Regions from separate parts of the Homo sapiens genome. Here regions 2 and 3 are each linked to region 1. The links are contacts of gene promoters, found by promoter capture Hi-C in human tissues and cell types (Jung and others, 2019). All regions are on one chromosome and are shown on one strand. The core of a region is centred on a gene start or on the middle of the fragment in contact, and the rest is flanking DNA. Distances in the headings are between cores, read along the strand shown. Region 1 holds the start of ZNF626 (zinc finger protein 626). Region 2 has its middle 9.0 kb from the start of ZNF430. Region 3 has its middle 29 kb from the start of ZNF430.

The links. Contacts are between HindIII fragments. The study calls those that stand out against the background at their distance.
Region 2: a fragment that was not itself captured here is called in contact with the fragment with the promoter of ZNF626 in region 1 in 1 of the 25 tissues and cell types used here (hippocampus).
Region 3: a contact is called between a fragment that was not itself captured here and the fragment with the promoter of ZNF626 in region 1, in 1 of the 25 tissues and cell types used here (dorsolateral prefrontal cortex).

Annotation. Positions count from the first base shown.
Region 1 is chr19:20,660,002-20,663,292 of GRCh38, reverse strand. It overlaps ZNF626 (zinc finger protein 626), which reads left to right and starts at 1,722. Exons shown (of 4, transcript NM_001076675.3): 1 at 1,722-1,849. The coding sequence starts at 1,847. RefSeq lists a silencer at 1,528-1,597. The HindIII fragment of the contact is 1,409 bases long and covers 1,317-2,725 here.
Region 2 is chr19:21,009,975-21,013,265 of GRCh38, reverse strand. No RefSeq gene overlaps it. Among named protein-coding and RNA genes, the nearest start is that of ZNF430, 9.0 kb to the left of the region's middle. The HindIII fragment of the contact is 6,310 bases long and covers 1-3,291 here.
Region 3 is chr19:20,989,941-20,993,231 of GRCh38, reverse strand. No RefSeq gene overlaps it. Among named protein-coding and RNA genes, the nearest start is that of ZNF430, 29 kb to the left of the region's middle. The HindIII fragment of the contact is 4,218 bases long and covers 1-3,291 here.

The DNA.
Region 1 (3,291 bases), core at 473-2,972:
TTGAAGACCACCTTGCCAAAATAAGGCATGCAGACAAGATTAAACAAAAATGAATAAAAAGGAACAAATGAAGCCTTTGAGAAATATGTTCTGTGCAGGAAACACATGAGGGGAGAAGAAAAGACACGCACACAATACCTTTAAGGGTAAACAAGCTTTATCCCAGGTAAATGGCAATGCATATATAATAAGCAAATTGATATAATAAGAGCATTGCAATGGGAAGGGGAGAAGAGAAAAAATATATATCTTTACACTCACCAGACTATGGAGGATTCATCAGCAGACCAGGAAGCAACAGCCTGGGCTCCAGAGTCGGCCACCCATCCCTGTACAGACAAGGAGAGGTCTTTGGAGCTTTGGTGCAGTCTGGGATCCTAGCTCTTTTTGTAACAAGTTGTTTGGCATGAGGCCCAGTTGCAACTGGGCTCTTTGCAACTGGGCTCAAGGAACACAAAAAAGTCAACTTGTTTTTTTTGCGATTGGCTATTGTTTTTCAATAACTAACGTATAGGAATAGATTAAAATAGAGATTTCTCCAAAACAATCTGTGCCCAGTTCTCTTTGCCCAGCTTGGCCTCAGTCCCATTCAGCCAGAAGATGGCAGCTGCGCTGACAGCCAGGCCCCCAGAAGTCCTGCCTCTTCACTGCGCTGTGACTGTGCCCTGGCCTGGAGCCCACTTTGGGCAGCTCTGCACCTGCAGCATGGCGTCTCTCCCAGATTGTGCAGGGACCAGGGGAAGGTCGGCAGGTGAATGCCTCAAGGGGCTCACATAACCTGTTCCAGGACTTGGTGACCATTGTTTGTGTCCATGTTCAACTGAGTTCAAATTTAATATTTAACTTTTCCTCCACAAATTCCCCTGTCTTGATGAATCATCTCTGTCTAGGCAAGATGAAGCCCTTAGGCCGTTACACAACCTCCGCCTCCTGGGTTCAAGCGATTCCCCTGCTTCAGCCGCCGTAGCACCTGGGACTACAGGTGTGTACCACCACACCTGGCTAATTTTTTGTGTTTTTACTAGAGATGAGATTCAACATGTTGGCCAGGCTGGTCTTGAACTCCTGACCTGAAGTGATCCACCCACTTTGGCCTCCCAAAGTGCTTGGATTACAAGCGTGCACCAGCGGACTGGCCCTAAATGATTTCTTTGTCTCTTGTAACAGTTTGAAATTACTTAAAGGTTGTTTCAAATTGAAAAAATAAAAAGAATGTAGATAAAAATAAAATATAAAAAGTTAAAAAATTACATTAGATTACAAAATATGTATGTAAATCTCGAGAGGTCAAAAATGACAAATTTGATTTTTTATAAGGTTTTATCAAAATTACCTTTAGTATTGATAATACATTATTGCCAAAGTAAAAGTTGATTTTCTCTTGAACAAAAATTTTATGTATTATTAATATGAGAGCAAAATACTTCTGTTCACCTTTTGAATACATTCAAAAAGAGAGAGAGTAAAGAAAAGATAGAATTCTCCCATGCTCTGGGGTGGGCCTGGCTCAGCTCAGGAAGGAAGCCCTGCCTGAAAAGGCTGCAGCTTAGGCTGTCACTCTTTCTTCACTCAGCTCAGCGTCTGATCACATCTACTGTCACTCAGGGCCTCAGGGGGCGGGGCCTTAAGCATTATCCAATCAGGGATGGTGGGCTGGAAACCATCCAATCAGGAACGCAGCTGGAGCGAAGAGGACGGTTTCCGGGTTTGGTGCGGCCTTTGTCTCTCGCTGCAGTCAGAGCTCCAGGTCTGGTTCTTCTCCTAAAGGCCCAGGCTGTGTGGCCCCGTGTCCTGCAGGTATTGGGAGATCCACAGCTAAGACACCGGGACCTCCTGGAAGCCAAAAATGGTGAGAGTGAGGGTCCGACATCCCGAGAGAGGAGAGGGACTGGTTGGAACCGGTGAAAAGTGGCTGTGGCGGGACTCAGGCCTCCCCGCAGTCAGCTCCACAGTCTGCTCCCCCAGTTCTCCTTGCTCAGCTCGGCCTCAGTCCTGTTCAGCCATAAAATGGCAGCTGCGCTGACAGCCGGCACCCGGGCGTCTTGTCTCTTCACTGCGCGGTGACTACCCTGGCCTGGAGCCCTCTCTGGGCAGCTCTGCACCCGCAGCGTGGCGTCTCTCCCAGATTGTGCAGGGACCAGGGGAGGGTGGGCAGGGGAGAATCCTGACTCGGGGTGCGGGTTCATGAATGGGAAGAGCTTTGTTCCTTTGGGTTTACAGTTTCTCTTTTCTCCTATTAAAAATGTATGGGGCCGGACGCTGTGGCTCACGCCTGTAATCCCAACGTTTTGGGAGGCCGAGGCGGGCGGATCACTTGAGGTAAAGAGGTGTTAGGACAACTAAGTTCCTTTTAAATGACTCAACTTTCTGGTCATAAGTTGTAAAAGTTGTAAATCAACCCTACCTCTTCTTCTACCCCCTTTTCCTTTTCTCGCAAATCGCGCATTTACTTTATTTGGAAAAAGTTTGGGTCTAAGCTTACCAGGATCAGCTTAGATTGTGCGGTCTGATCCCAGCCAATAGGGGATGGAAACAAAAACAGGAACTGCATTAGGGTTCAAAACCCCTTTCTTGCTGGGCGCGGTGGCTCAAGCCTGTAATCCCAGCACTTCGGAGGCCGAGGCAGGTGGATCACGTGGTCAGGAGTTCTAGACCAGCCTGGCCAACGTGGTGAAACCCGTCTCTACTAAAAATACGAAAACTATCGGCGTGTTGGCACGTGCCTGTAGTACCAGCCACTTGGGAGGCTGAGGCACGAGAATTGCTTGAACCCGGGAGGCGGAAGTTGCAGTGAGCTGAGATCCAATCATCGCGCTCCAGCCTGCGTGACAAAGCGAGACTCCGGCTCAAAAAAAAGAAAAAAAAAGTAAGCATCTTAAAAATTCCTTTATGTAAACATTGTGAGTAATTTCACTGGAGTTTCTAACACTTAGTTTCAAAAACCAAGTGAATAACTGATGTGGACATTAAAGCTTGAACCTAGTGACTCCAAGCTAAGGCTAATATTAAGCCTGCAACAGGGTATTTTTTTTTTTTTTTTTTTTTTTTTAGACACAGTGTCGCTTGTGGTGCCCAGGCTGGAATGTAATGGCGTGATCTCGGCTTACTGGGTTCAAGCGATTCTCCTACCTCAGCCCCACCAGTAGCTGGGATTACAGGCATGCACCATCACGCCCGGCTAATTTTGGTGTTTAGTAGAGACGGGTTTTCTCCATGTTTGTCAGGCTGGTCTTGAACTCTCTGCCTCAGACCCGCTTCGGCCTCCCAAAGTGCTGGCATTATCGGTGTGAG
Region 2 (3,291 bases), core at 321-2,820, 350 kb before region 1:
TCGGCTCACTGCAAGCTCCATCCCCCGAGTTCATGCCATTCTCCTGCCTCAGCCTCCCGAGTAACTGGGACTACAGGTGCCTGCCACCATGCCCGGCTAATTTTTTTTTTTTTTTTTTGTATTTTTAGAAGAGACGGGGTTTCACCGTGTTCGCCAGGATGGTCTCAATCTCCTGACCTTGTGATCCACCCGCCTTGGTCTCCCAAAGTGTACATGAAGTTTGGATTGTCTTCTCAGGATTATATGTTTGAGAGGAAAAAAACGGTCCTAACCTATTTTGGTAGTTAGGACAGTCACCACACACACACACACACACACACACACACACACACACACACATTTAATTTATATTTAACTTAGATTATTATTATGTATTTTTTTGAGATGGAGTTTCACTCTTATTGCCCAGGCTGGACTGCAATGGCACCATCTCAGCTCGCTGCAACCTCTGCCTCCCAGGTTCAAGTGATTCTCCTGCCTCAGCCGCCCAAGTAGCTGGGATTACAGGAGTGCACCACCACACCCAGCTAATTTTGTATTTTTAGTAGAGACAGAGTTTCTCCGTGTTGGTCAGGCTGGTCTTGAACTCCTGACCTCAGGTGATCTGCCCACCTCGGCCTCTGAAAGTGCTGGGATTACAGGCATGAGCCACTGTGCCCCGCCAACTTAGACTATTTTTTATCTCTTCTGTGGCGAGTGATAAAATGCAGTGCTTTTGATAAAGGAAGCTTTAAGAACTCAGGAATGAAAAAAGTCACTGCTGTCTAGGTTCTCTATGAGTTCACACTTAACATTAAATTTATGTCCTCTTAAATATCAAGTTTGTTTCTTCAATTTAGGTTCATAGCACTGATAACTGAGAGGTTATCATAGGTAATCTGACTTGGAACACACAGTTTACTCAAATGGCACATCTAAAAAATTTCAGTACTGGCTGATTTAGTATAAAAATGTGGCAGAGTATTTTCATAATGTATAATTCATTTTTGTTTTGCCTGGATTACTAGTTTTATTTTTTATATATATTTTTTGAGACAGAGTCTCACTCTGTGGCTCAGGCTGGAGTGCAATGGCACAATTTTGGCTCAATGCAACCTCCGCCTCCCAGGTTAAAGTGATTCTCCCCTCAGCCTCCCAAGTAGCTGGGACTACAGGCATGCACCACTATGCCTGGCTAATTTTTGTATATATATATATTTTTTTAAGTCTCTTTTTTTTCCCCATAAGTTACTGGGCTACAGGTGGTATTTGGTTACATTAGTATGTTCTTTAGTGGTGATTTGTGAGATTTTGTTGCACCCATCACCTGAGCAGTAGAGCAGTATACACTGCACCATATTGGTAGTCTCTATCCCTCATCCCCCTCCTACTCTTTCCCCAACATCCCCAAAGTCCATTGCATCATTCTTATGCCTTTGTGTCCTCATAGCTTAGCTCCCACATCTCAGTGAGGACATTCAATGTTTGATTTTCCATTCCTGAGTGACTTCACTTAGAATAATAGTCTCCAATGTTATCCAGGTCACTGCAAATGTTAATTCATTCCTTTTTATGGCTGAGTAGTATTCCATTGTGTGTGTGTGTGTGTGTGTGTGTGTGTGTGTATATGATGATATATATATATGATGTGTATATATATATATGTATATATGATATGATTCTTTCCTTCATCTTAACGTTAGATAACCTGATGACAATGTGATTAGGTGATGATCTTTTTGTGATGAATTTCTCAGGTATTCTTTGTGCTTTTTGTATTTGAATGTCTAGGCCTCTGGCAAAACCAGGTAAGTTTTCTTCAATTATTTCCCCAAATATGTTTTCCAAACTTTTAGATTTTTCTTCTTTTTCAGAAAAACCAATTATTCAGGCTTCTTTAAGGTTTTGTTCATTTTTTTTTGTCTTTGCTGGATTGTGTTAATTTGAAGATCTTGTCTTTGATCTCTGAATTTCTTTCTTCTACTTGTTCAATTCTATTGCTGAGACTTTCCAGAGCATTTTGCATTTTTATAAGTGTGTCCAATATTTCCTGAGGTTCTGATTGTTTTTTCTTTATGCTATTTCCTTGCATATTTATCCCTTATTTTTATTTTATTTACTTATTCATTATTATTTTTTATTATTTTTATTTATTATTATTTTTTGAGATAGAGTTTCACTCTTGTTGCCCAGGCTGGAGTGCAATGGCACAATCTTGGCTCACCACAACCTCTGCCTCCCGGGTTCAAGCGATTCTCCTGCCTCAGCCTCCTGAGTAGCTGGGATTACAGGCATGCTCCACCACACCTGGCTAATTTTGTATTTTTAGTAGAGATAGGGTTTCTTCACGTTGGTCAGGCTAGTCTCGAACTCCCGACCTCAGGTGATCCATCCACCTCAGCCTCCCAGAGTGCTGGGATTACAGGCATGAGCCACCAACCCAGCCTATTTTTAATTTTTTTGAGATGGAGTCTTGCTCTGTCGACCAGGCTAGAGTGCAATGGCGCAATCTTGGCTCACTACAACCTCTGCCTCCCGGGTTCAAGTGATTCTCCTGCCTCAGCCCCCTGAGTAGCTGGGATTAAAGGCTTGCACCACCACGCCTGGCTAATTTTTGTATTTTTACTAGAGACGGGGTTTCACCATGTTGGTCAGGCTGGTCTGGAACTCCTGACCTCGTGATCTGCCCACCTCTGTTGTAGCAGGATGAGACACAGACAAGAACCCCTCAGACACCGAGTTGCAGAAGGAAAGGGCTTTATTCAGCTGGCAGCATTGGAAGACTCACATCTCCAAAAACTGAGCTCCCTGAGTGAGCAATTCCTGTCCCTTTCAAGGGCTTACAACTATAACGGGGTCCGCCTGAAAAGGTCATGATTGATTGAGCAAGCAGAGGGTATGTGACTGGGGGCTGCATGTACCACTAGTCAGAACAGAACAGAACAGGATAGGGATTTTCATGATGCTTTTCCATACAATGTCTGAAATCTATAGATAACACAAGCAGTTAGGTCAGGGGTGGATTTTTAACTAGCAGGCCCAGGGCATGATGCTGGGCTATCTGCCTGTGGATTCCATTTCTGCCTTTCAGTTTTCACTTCTTCTTTCTTTGGAGGCAGAAACTAGGCATAAGACAATATGAGGGGTGGTCTCCTCCCTTTTTCCCCCCGTTTGAGAACCTCTCTCATTAGTGGAAGTTCTCACCTTTATCCTCACTACTCATGTCTTCCTGTAAGACAGATCGATAGTGATTCATATAGTACACTTGTGCTGAAGCATTTTGGTGAACTAAGGTAGCGATGAAGCTTTTTA
Region 3 (3,291 bases), core at 573-3,072, 330 kb before region 1:
AGTCTTCAATTCATCTTGAGGATTGTCTTGGCTATACGGGCTCTTTTTTGGTTCTATACAAAATTTAAAGTAGTTTTTTCTAACTCTGCAAAGAAAGTCACTGGTAGCTTGATGGGAATAGCATTGAATCTGTAAATTACTTTGGTCAATATGGCCATTTTCATGATATTGATTCTTCCTATCCATGAGTATGTAATGTTTTTCCATTTGTTTGTGTCCTCTCATTTCCTTGAGCAGTGGTCTGTAGTTCTCCTTGAAGAGGTCCTTCAAATGCCTTGTAAGTTGTTTTCCTAGATATTTTATTCTCTTTGTAGCAATTGTGAATGAGATTTCAGTCATGATTTGGCTCTCCGCTTGTCTATTGTTGTTGTTTAGGAATGCTTGTGTGTTTTTTTTGTTTCTTTTTGTTTTTGAGACGGAGTCTTGCTCTGTCACCCAGGCTGGAGTCCAGCGGTGCAACCTTGGCTCACTGCAACCTCCGCCTCCTGGGTTCAAGCGATTCTCCTGCCTCAGCCTCATGAGTAGCTGGGATTACAGGCACACACCATCATGCCTGGCTAATTTTTGTATTTTTAGTAGAGACGGCATTTCACCATGTTGGCCAGGATGGTCTCGATCTCTTGACCCCATGATCTGCCCACCTCAGCCTCCCAAAGTGCTGGGATTACAGGCACGAGCCACCATGCCAGGCCTATGCTTGTGATTTTTGCACATTGATTTTGTATCCTGAGACTTTACTAAAGTTGCTTATCAGCTTAAGGAGTTTTTGGGCTGAGATGATGGGGTTTTCTAAATATACAATCATGTCATTTGCAAACAGAGACAATTTGACTTCCTGTCTTCCTATTTGAATACACATTATTCCTTTCTCTTGCCTGATTGCCCTGGCCAGAACTTACAATATGATGTTGAGTAGGAGTGGTGAGAGAGGGCATCCTTGTCTTGTGCCGGTTTTCAAAGGGAAAGCTTCCAGCTATTGTTCATTCAGTATGATATTGGCTATGGGTTTGTCATCAATAGCTCTTATTATTTTGAGGTGTGTTCCATCCATACCTAGTTTTTTAAGAGTTTTTAGCATGAAGGGATGTTGAAGTTTATCAAAGGCCCTTTCTCCATCTATTGAGATAATCATGTGGTTTTTGTCATTGGTTCTGTTTATGTGATGGATTATGTTGGTTGATTTGTGTATGTTGAACCAGCCTTGCATCTCAGGGATGAAGCCCACCTGATCATGGTGGATAAGCTTTTTGATGTGCTGCTGGATTTGGTTTGCCAGTATTTTATTGAGGATTTTCGCATTGATGTTCATCAGGGATATTGGCCTGAAATTTTTTTTTTTATTGTGTCTCTGCCAGGTTTTGGTATCAGGATGATGCTAGCCTCATAAAATGAGTTAGGGAGGAGTCCCTCTTTTGCTATTGTTTGAAATCATTTCAGAAGGAATGGTACTAGCTCCTCTTTGTACCTCTGGTAGAATTCAGCTGTGAATCCATCTGGGCCTGGGCATTTTTTGGTTGGTAGCCTGTTAATTACTGCCTCAGTTTCAGAACTTGCTATTGGTTTATTCAGGGATTCATCTTCTTCCTGGTTTAGTCTTGGGAGGGTGTATGTGTCCAGGAATTTATTCATTTCTTCTAAATTTTCAAGTTTATTTGCATAGAGATGTTTATAGTATTCTCTTATAGTAGTTTGTATTTCTGTGGGATCAGTGGTAATAGCCCCTTTATCATTTTTTATTGTGCCTATTTGATTCTTGTCTCTTTTCTTCTATACTAGTCTAGCTAGTAGTCTATCTATTTTGTTAATCTTTTCAAAAAACCAGTTCCTAGATTAATTGATTATTTGAAGGTTTTTTGTGTCTCTATCTCCTTCAGTTCTGCTCTGGTATTAGTTATTTCTTGTATTCTGTTCGCTTTTGAATTTGTTTGCTCTTGCTTCTCTAGTTCTTTTAATTGTGATTTTAGGGTGTTGATTTTAGATCTTTCCAGCTTTCTGTTGTGGGTATTTAGTGCTATAAATTTACCTCTTAACACTGCTTTAGCTGTGTTAGATTCTGGTCCCAGAGATTCTGATACACTGTGTCTTTGTTCTCATTGGTTTCAAAGAACTTATTTACTTCTGCCTTCATTTCGTTATTTACCCAGTAGTCATTCAGGAGCAGGTTGTTCAATTTCCATGTAGTTGTGAGGTTTTGAATGCGTTTCTTAATCCTGAGTTCTAATTTGATTGTCCTGTGGTCTGAGAGACTGTTTGGTATGATTTTCATTCTTTTGCATTTGCTGAGGAACGTTTTACTTCCAATTATGTGGTCAATTTTAGAATACGTGCTGTGTGGCACTGAGAAGAATTTATATTCTGTTGATTTGGTGTGGAGAGTACTGTAGATGTCCATTAGGTCTGCTTGGTCCAGAGCTGAGTTCAAGTCCTGAATATCCTTATTAATTTTCTGTCTCCTTGATCTGTCTAATATTAACAGAGGGGTGTTAAAGTCTCCCACTATTATTGTGTGGGAGTCTAAGTCTCTTTGTAGATCTCTAAGAACTTGTTTTATGAATCTGGGCACTCGTGTATTGGGTGCTTATATGTTTAGGATAGTTAATTCTTCTTGTTGCATTGATCCCTTTACCATTATGTAATGCCCTTCTTTTTATTTTTTGATCTTTTTTGGTTTAAAGTCTATTTTATCAGAGACTAGGATTGCAACCCCAGCTTTTTTTTTTCTTTTCATTTGTTTGGTAAATATTCCTGCATACCTTTATTTTGAGCCTATATGTGTCTTTGCATGTGAGATAGGTCTCCTGAATACAGCACACTGATAGGTCTTGACTCTTTATCCAGTTAGCCAGTCTATGTCTTTAAATTGGGGCATTTAGCCCATTTAAATTTAAGGTTAATATTGTTATGTGTGAATTTGATCCTGTCATCATGATGCTAGCTGGTTATTTTTCATGTTAGTTGATGCAGTTTCTTCATAGTGTCATTGGTCTTTATATTTTGGTGTGTTTTTACAGTGGCTGGTACCAGTTTTTCCTTTCCATATTTAGTGCTTCCTTCAGGAGCTCTTGTAAGGCAGGCATGGTGGTGATGAAATCCCTCAGCATTTGCTTGTCTGTAAAGGATTTTCTTTCTCATTCGCTTATGAAGCTTACTTTGGCTGGATATGAAATTCTGGGTTGAAAATTCTTTTCTTCAAGAATGTTGAATATTGGCCCGTACTCTCTTCTGGCTTGTAGGATTTTCACAGAGAAATCTGCTGTTAGTCTGATGGGCTTACCTTTGTATTTAACCTGA